Linked DNA regions of Homo sapiens: region 2 is linked to region 1. The links are contacts of gene promoters, found by promoter capture Hi-C in human tissues and cell types (Jung and others, 2019). All regions are on one chromosome and are shown on one strand. Each heading gives the region's core, a stretch centred on a gene start or on the middle of the fragment in contact. The rest is flanking DNA. Distances are from core to core; before and after follow the strand shown. Region 1 holds the start of HS3ST6 (heparan sulfate-glucosamine 3-sulfotransferase 6). Region 2 overlaps MEIOB (meiosis specific with OB-fold).

Region 1 (3,757 bases), core at 861-3,360:
AGCCATCACGGAACCAGTGCTGGAATTTCAAGTCCTGAGTAGGGACTGCTGAGACCGTGGGGATGGCTGAGACTGTGGGGACGGCTGAGACCGTGGGGATGGCTGAGACCGTGGGGACTGCTGAACCTGTGGGGACTCCTGAGACCGTGGGAACAGCTGAGACCGTGGGGACTCAGACCGTGGGGACGGCTGAGACCGTGGGGACTCCTGAGACCGTGGGGATGGCTGAGACCGTGGGGGCTCCTGAGACCGTGGGGACTGCTGAGACCGTGGGGACTCCTGAGACCGTGGGGATGGCTGAGACCGTGGGGGCTCCTGAGACCGTGGGGACTGCTGAGACCGTGGGGACGGCTGAGACCGTGGGGACTCCTGAGACCCTGGGGACGGCTGAGACCATGGGGACGGCTGAGACCGTGGGGACTCCTGAGACCCTGGGGACAGCTGAGACCATGGGGATGCTGAGACCGTGGGGACTCCTGAGACCGTGAGGACTCCTGAGACCGTGGGGACTGCTGAGACTGTGGGGTGGATGCTGCAGGGTGGGACCCCAGCCCCCACCCCGAGCCAGCCCGTTGGGAACAATACCGTTTCAAGCTAGACCAGAAGAAGAATTTCCTGTGACCCAGCATAAGCCAGCATGCTCTCCTCGCATTGTGCCCGCTGCCTGCCCACGGGGCTCCTGCAGAGGCTTGCCCAGATGAGCAGGTGCAGCCCGCATGTCTGGAGCCGGGGCTGGGGGACTGGTCAGTGGTCTTCACCCCGTCAGCCCCGTGTGGCCCCCTCTGGCCAGGGCTGCTGCTGGGTAGGAGCTCCGGAATGTCTGTGGGTCGTGGAGGCCTTCGGCCCCTTGAGGCAGCCCGGCTGCTGGGACTTGTCCAGATGCCATCAGGGCTGGAACGGCTCATTAACGCAGCAGAGCCCAGGACAGGGGCCGCAAGCCCTTGGCTGGGAAGAGGCTGGGCCTCTGCCGGGAGCCTGTGCCGTGCCTGCCTGGCGCCAGCCCTGTGGCCAGGAAGGCTGGGGCAGAGGTGGAGAGAGGACCCGGGTCTCATACCACCTTTGCCTTCGGATGGGGCAAGTTGCTCGCCCTCTCTGAGCCCGGCTCGCCTCCCCTGCCTTCCCTGCAGGCTGCTGCTGGGCGTTGGGGATGTGAAGTTCCCGCAGTGTCTAGCGGCCCCCGCAGGTCCCACCCGAGAGGCCCCTGAATCTCACGCCCCTCAGAGGCAGCCCCTGGGGGAGGTCCTGGGCTCCTTCTCTTCCCCAGCACAGGGGTCCCTGAGTCCTTTGTACTCCAGTGGGGTCCACTTTGCCAGCTTCCGAAATGCATCACTGATGTCTCTGGGCAGTGCCAGGTGGACCAAGGCTGGGCAGATGGGGTGACTTAGTAGACAGAGTATGTCTCAGGCCTGAATTCAGTTCACCACTGGGCCCCTGGGAGGGAAACCTATTTTCTCTGAGCCTGTCCCCTCCATTCTAAAACAGTAACCAGAGGTGACTTGACCTCTCAGCGGCCAGGCTGTGACCCGATGTGTGACTGTCAGCTGGGAGTGCAGGACGCACGCCATTCCCGGCCGCAGACTCCCCCCACACGTTCTGGGATCCCTCTCTGCACACTAGGGTGCTGTCCCGGCCTCTTTCTCCCTTGGCAGGCCGAGTGCCCGGATCGACGCTTTTCCTGGGTCCCCTTGGCCTGGCGATGAGGCTCCCGCTCCTGCAGGCCAAGGCTTGGCCTATGCACCTGCCGCGCACGTCCCGGAGTGGGGTGGGGGGGGAAGGGGATCGGTCTTCAAACAGAGGGTCCCGAGGCCCGCGCGCCGCCCTGTCCCTGCCCTGCGTCCCGAACGGCCACCGCCGCCGCATCCTCCCCGCGCAGAGGTGAAGATGCCGGAGTCAAGCGAGCCAGGGCCTGGGATCTCGGAGCAGGAGCGTCCTGGTGGTCCCGGCAGCTCGAGTCGCGCCCGGGTGGTGGCGGCTGCCGGCGGGTCCAGCCCAGGCAGTGGCCTCGGAGGCGGAGTGGGCGGGGGAGGGGGAGGGGGGAGGGCGTCCAGACCCCGCCCCCGGTCCCGCCCCGCGCCCGCTCCCAGGCTGCGGGACCGCCGGGCGCAGAGCACAAGCCGGGCACCCACGGACTGAGCGGCGCGCGGGCCGAGATGCGCGCCCGCCTGCTGCCCCCGCTCCCGGGCCTGGAGCGGCGCGACCCCATGGCAGGTAGCGGCGGCCTGGGCGGCGGGGCCGGGGGCGGCCAGGGCGCAGGGGCCGGGCAAGGGGCCGCTCTGCGGGCGTCCCGCGCGCCGATGCTGCTCGTGGCCCTGGTGCTCGGCGCCTACTGCCTCTGCGCCCTCCCCGGCCGCTGCCCGCCGGCCGCCCGCGCCCCCGCGCCGGCCCCCGCGCCCTCCGAGCCGTCCAGCTCCGTCCACCGCCCGGGAGCACCCGGCCTGCCTTTGGCCAGCGGTCCCGGCCGCCGGCGCTTCCCGCAAGCGCTCATCGTTGGCGTGAAGAAGGGCGGCACGCGCGCCCTGCTGGAGTTTCTGCGGCTGCACCCCGACGTCCGCGCGCTGGGCTCTGAGCCCCACTTCTTCGACAGGTGCTACGAGCGCGGCCTCGCCTGGTACCGGTGAGCACCCTGGCCCGTCCGCCCTGACCGGCGCCTTCCTGGGGAGGGTATCGTGCGCCCCAGGGAGCAGCGGCACGATATCCTGCCTCCCAGGGAGCAGGGGTGCGCTCCGGGCAGTGGGGTTGGGACCGCCCTGTGGGGGCCCCAGGCTTGACCTGGGGTCCCGGCTCCGGAAGAAGGAATGATACTTGGCTAGGATTCCCTGAAACTTTGAAAACTGTGGGGAAAGCCCCGGTTCCGTTCTCTCTGCTGAGGGACCCAGCAGGACTGGGGGAGGCGGTGGCTTCCCAGCCCAGAGGTCGTTTCCAGCCCGTGGGATTACCTGGCAGCGTCAGAAATGCCTCTGCCGCCCGCTCACTCTGGGCACTCAGGTGTGACCGACCGCTGGCCAGGTACTGTAGAAAGGGGCCTCCAGGTTCCAGGCAGCCACCTAGAAAGCGTCCTTCCTCCCCAAGACCCCCGAGTCTGCGCACAGGAACCCTTGTTGGTGGTCCTGGGAGTCCGGAGAAAGTCTGGGCTTTGGAAAGGAGGAGACTGCCTTTAGGTGAGTGCCCAGGGTGAGTCCAGCCCCGTGCATGGGGCTCTGTGGCTGTCCTGCCTCTACCCAGGATGGACGTGGGGGTGCGGCAGCCTCAGCTGAAGCAGCCCGCGCTGGTGGCTGCTCATCCCCAAGCTTGGACCCAGCGCCTGCAGAGAGGACCCTGCCCAAGGCCAGTTGGGGAGTCAGTGGGGGTGGCAGGACCCAGACGCTTCTCCAGGTGCTCCAGTTTCTCCGTTCCCGATCCTCTGATCCTCTTCCTTCCCTGACGCCTACCCCTATTTGTTAACTTTGCCTTTTGTACTAAAACTACTCTTGGGTTTGGAGGGCAGGCAGGAAGGGGCTCCGTGAGAATAGGGTGGCTCGCTTCTGAGATCTGAAGGGCTGGTGCCAGTGTGGGGTGCTGGGGAAGTCAGGTGGTGGCTAGGGGACATGGAGTCCATCCCGGGGCTCACCTGGCTGAATTGGGCATCCTCAGCTCAGGCTCCAGGGAGAGACCTCACTCCCCTGACGGCAGGCAGGGGTCAGAATGCATCCCTAATCCCTGCTGCAGGGAGGAGGGTAGGAGGGGCTACCAAGCTAGAAGCTGGGGAGGAGGGGAGTGG
Region 2 (3,574 bases), core at 503-3,002, 84 kb after region 1:
GTAGATGAACCTCTGGGCTCCTCTATAGGGCAGAAGCAGTGCATCTTCACTCAGACAGACTTCATGGGGATTCCATGAGCAGGGTCATTCGAATCACTGTCAGCTTTCTACAACCTAGTTCTAAAACAGCTCAGTCCGTGCAATGGGAGGTGTAGCCCCTGTAGAATCAGACAGCTCTGAACGTGTTCTAGCCAATGTCAGACTACCACAACATTCCATTGAAAGGGTACCCACTTATTGTTATTGCCCACTTAAAGTCTTTCCCAGTTTTCCCTGATGTTGGTACTTTTTTTTCTCTCAGTCTTGAAATTAAAGTGGTTGATATGTCCTTCCACTCTATATTAAATAAAATGTTGGTTAAAGTGCTGTATAAATTATAAAAAATAAGACTATTAAAATAAGACTATTATTAAATTATGTCATCATATTCCTGTAGTCTCACAGATTGAGTCCCTGCTACAGCTTAAAGTCTATCACAGTTGGTAGTTTGAACACACATTAAGCCCTTTTTCATATGTTATACTTTTTTTTTTTTTTGAGACACAGTCTCACTCTGCTCGCTCTGTCACACAGGCTGGAGCACGTGGTGCGATCACAGCTTACTGCAGCCTCAACCTTCCCAGGCTCAAGTGATCCTCCCGCCTCAGCCACCGAGTAGCTGGGACCACAGGTGTGCACCACCACACCTGGCTAATTTTTATATTTTTAGTAGAGACAGGGTTTCACTTTATTGGCCAGGCTGGTCTTGAACTTCAGGCCTCAAGTGATCTACCTGCCTTGGCCTCCCAAAGTGCTGGGATTACAGGCATGAGCCACCTCACCCAGCCCTGCATTAGACATTTTTTTTAGTGGGGGGGGGTGGGGGGGACAGAGTTTCGCTCTAGTTGCCCAAGCTGGAGTGCAATGGCACAATCTCTGCTCACTGCAACCTCTGCCTCCCGGGTTCAAGGGATTCTCCTGCCTCAGCCTTCTGAGTAGCTGGGATAACAGGTGTGTGCCACCATGCCCGGCTAATTTTTTGTATTTTTAGTAGAAATGGGAGTTTCACCATGTTAGCCAGGCTGGTCTCGAACTCCTGACCTCAGGTGATCCACCCGCCTTGGCCTCCCAAAGTGCTGGGATTACAGGCGTGAGCCACTGCACCAGCACCCGGCCACATTAGACTTTTAATCCCAACTTTCCTACCTGAGAGAAATAGCATGAAAAGTGACAAAATTTTTACAAAATCAGTCAGAAGCTGGGCCTGTAAATTAACTGTACTCCGAGACTGGAACTCTTCCCATCATCTTACAGCTCTAATGGAAGTTTATATTAGTATCTGTAAACAAAACTTTCATTGCAGTTCTCTATTCGTGATCATTGATTTTTCAACTTGATATACAAGGGGATTTTAAAAATTAACCTTTTGTCTCTTTTTCTGTTTCTCCTCGCAGTTCGTTCTATCACACAGAGCAAGGAGTGGATTGAAAATTAGTGTACTCTCGTGCAAGCTTGCAGATCCTACTGAGGCAAGCAGAAACTTGTCTGGACAAAAACATGTTTAAAACGGTCTATCATTTTGAACTCTGGAAAAGTATAAGAGTTTTAACTCCCTTTAAAATGGAATATTAATTTGAAAATTATGGGGAAAATTGCATTTTGTTTACATGTGGTGAACATGTTTCTAGAAATTGTTATGGTGGAGGTGGTCTGGGTGAGTCTGAAGGCCTCTCTCATCTGACCTCCCTTCTTAGAAGGCCTCCTACTGTCTTTGCCTTGTCTCCTCCCAAGTTGGAAAATGTTTACATGAATTAATAAACAGATTTAATCTTCTACAGATTTGAATGATTTATTTTCTTTTCCATGTAGTTGAACGGCTTTGAGTGAGTTTCTTAATCCTGAGTGAATGATTTATTTTCTTAAGCCAGTTTATTATTTGTCTTGGTTCCCTGGAAAAAGAGTAGGACCTCAAGGGCTGGGCACGGTGGCTCATGCCTGTAATCCCAGCACTTTGGGATGCCAAGGCAGTCAGGAGATCGAGACCATCCTGGCTAACACAGTGAAACCCCATCTCTACTAAAAATACAAAAAATTAGCTGGGTGTGGTGGCACGTGCCTGTTGTCCCAGCTACTCGGGAGGCTGAGGCAGGAGAATCTCTTGAACCTGGGATGAGGAGGTTGTAGTGAGCTGAGATCCAGCCACTGCACTCCAGCCTGGGCGACAGAGCGAGACTCTGTCTTAAAAAAAAAAAAAAAAAAAAAAAAAGTACCTCTAAAGACTACTTTCTGAGAGCTGGGTGGTGACTCGTCATCTGACAGATCTGACAGGATGAGGGCAAGGGGCTCTTGGTGCTGGGTGGGAATAGCCAAAGTCGTGGGCAATCCTGTGCGACTGCTTTGAGCACCTGGGGCTCTTCTAGTCCCTGGTCTTCTCTGGTGACACACTGGAGTGCCCAGTGCTTGTGGAGGCTTGCTGGCTCAGGGCTGACATGACTGAGTCTGAATCAACTGGGAGGAGACCAACTTCAAAAGGTTCATGAGCATGCCTGGGTCTCAGAACTCTGAGGGGGACCTACTCAGGACATGAGGACGACAGCTGCCACTTTATCTGTTTGCTTTGCAGCAGCCACAAAGTAAACGGCTCAACTGCACACCATTGAGAGTCACTTGCTTCAGGGCGCAGACTCCAGCTGTGAAGACCCACCGCTAAGGTCAGTGTTGACCCACGGCCTGGGAGGTTTGACCTGGTACTTTAGAAGGCTACATGCCCTCCACCACAGGATTGAAAAAAAAGGAAAAAGTGAGTATATGAAACTGTTTCCTAAGGCTGGTGTTGGGAGATAAACCATCGTCAGTCATGTTTTATCTGGCTTTTACCATGTGCAGCCACAGAGGAGGGATGCAGGTTCACCCCTAAGTGTCCAAATTGTGGTGATAAGGTAATGAACGACTTGACCTAGTTGTGCAGAACAGGCCTTCCATCCTCCCTTGGGGAGAACTGGGGGGTTTGTGAAGCCAGGTGAATGGGGAGGGTGGACAGGGAAGGAAGGAGAGGAGAGAAGTGAGGGTGTCGTGGTTGGTGCTGGCTTGGCTCCCACTGTTGGTTCAGCAAGAGTGGGTATGGTGCCCCCTCCACTGAGCCCCGTGTCCAGGAGCTCAGGAGAAGCCACCTTACTCGGTTAATTTTAAAACATTTTGTAGAGACAGTGATCTTGGCATTTTGCCCAGGCTGGTCTTGAATTCCTGGGCTCAAGTGATCCACCCACCTCGGCCTCCCAAAGTGCTGGGATTACAGGCGTGAGCCACCGTGCCCAGCTGACACTTATATTTTTAAGAAAAAGAGGAAAATAGGCCAGGCGCGGTGGCTCACGCCTGTAATCCCAGCACTTTGGGAGGCTGAGGTGGGTGGATCACGAGGTCCGGAGATGTAGACCATCCTGGCTAACACGGTGAAGCCCTGTCTCTACTAAAAATACAAAAAAATTAGCCGGGTGTGGTGGAGGGCGCCTGTAGTCCCAGCTACTCGGGAGGCTGAGGCAGGAGAATGGCGTGAACCCGGGAGGCGGAGCTTGCAGTGAGCCGAGATCATGCCACT

What was found. Contacts are between HindIII fragments. The study calls those that stand out against the background at their distance.
Region 2: a contact is called between a fragment that was not itself captured here and the fragment with the promoter of HS3ST6 in region 1, in 5 of the 25 tissues and cell types used here (IMR-90 fibroblasts, dorsolateral prefrontal cortex, lymphoblastoid cells and 2 more).

The regions. Positions count from the first base shown.
Region 1 is chr16:1,916,768-1,920,524 of GRCh38, reverse strand. HS3ST6 (heparan sulfate-glucosamine 3-sulfotransferase 6) reads left to right here and starts at 2,110. Exons shown (of 2, transcript NM_001009606.4): 1 at 2,110-2,614. The coding sequence starts at 2,202. RefSeq lists enhancers at 1-329, 330-891, 892-1,455, 1,456-2,017. The HindIII fragment of the contact is 13,256 bases long and covers 1-3,757 here.
Region 2 is chr16:1,832,226-1,835,799 of GRCh38, reverse strand. MEIOB (meiosis specific with OB-fold) reads left to right here. Exons shown (of 14, transcript NM_001163560.3): 14 at 1,434-1,814. The coding sequence ends at 1,544. It also overlaps a transcript of FAHD1 not described here. Among named protein-coding and RNA genes, the nearest start is that of FAHD1, 6.8 kb to the right of the region's middle. RefSeq lists a silencer at 2,658-2,952. The HindIII fragment of the contact is 8,140 bases long and covers 1-3,574 here.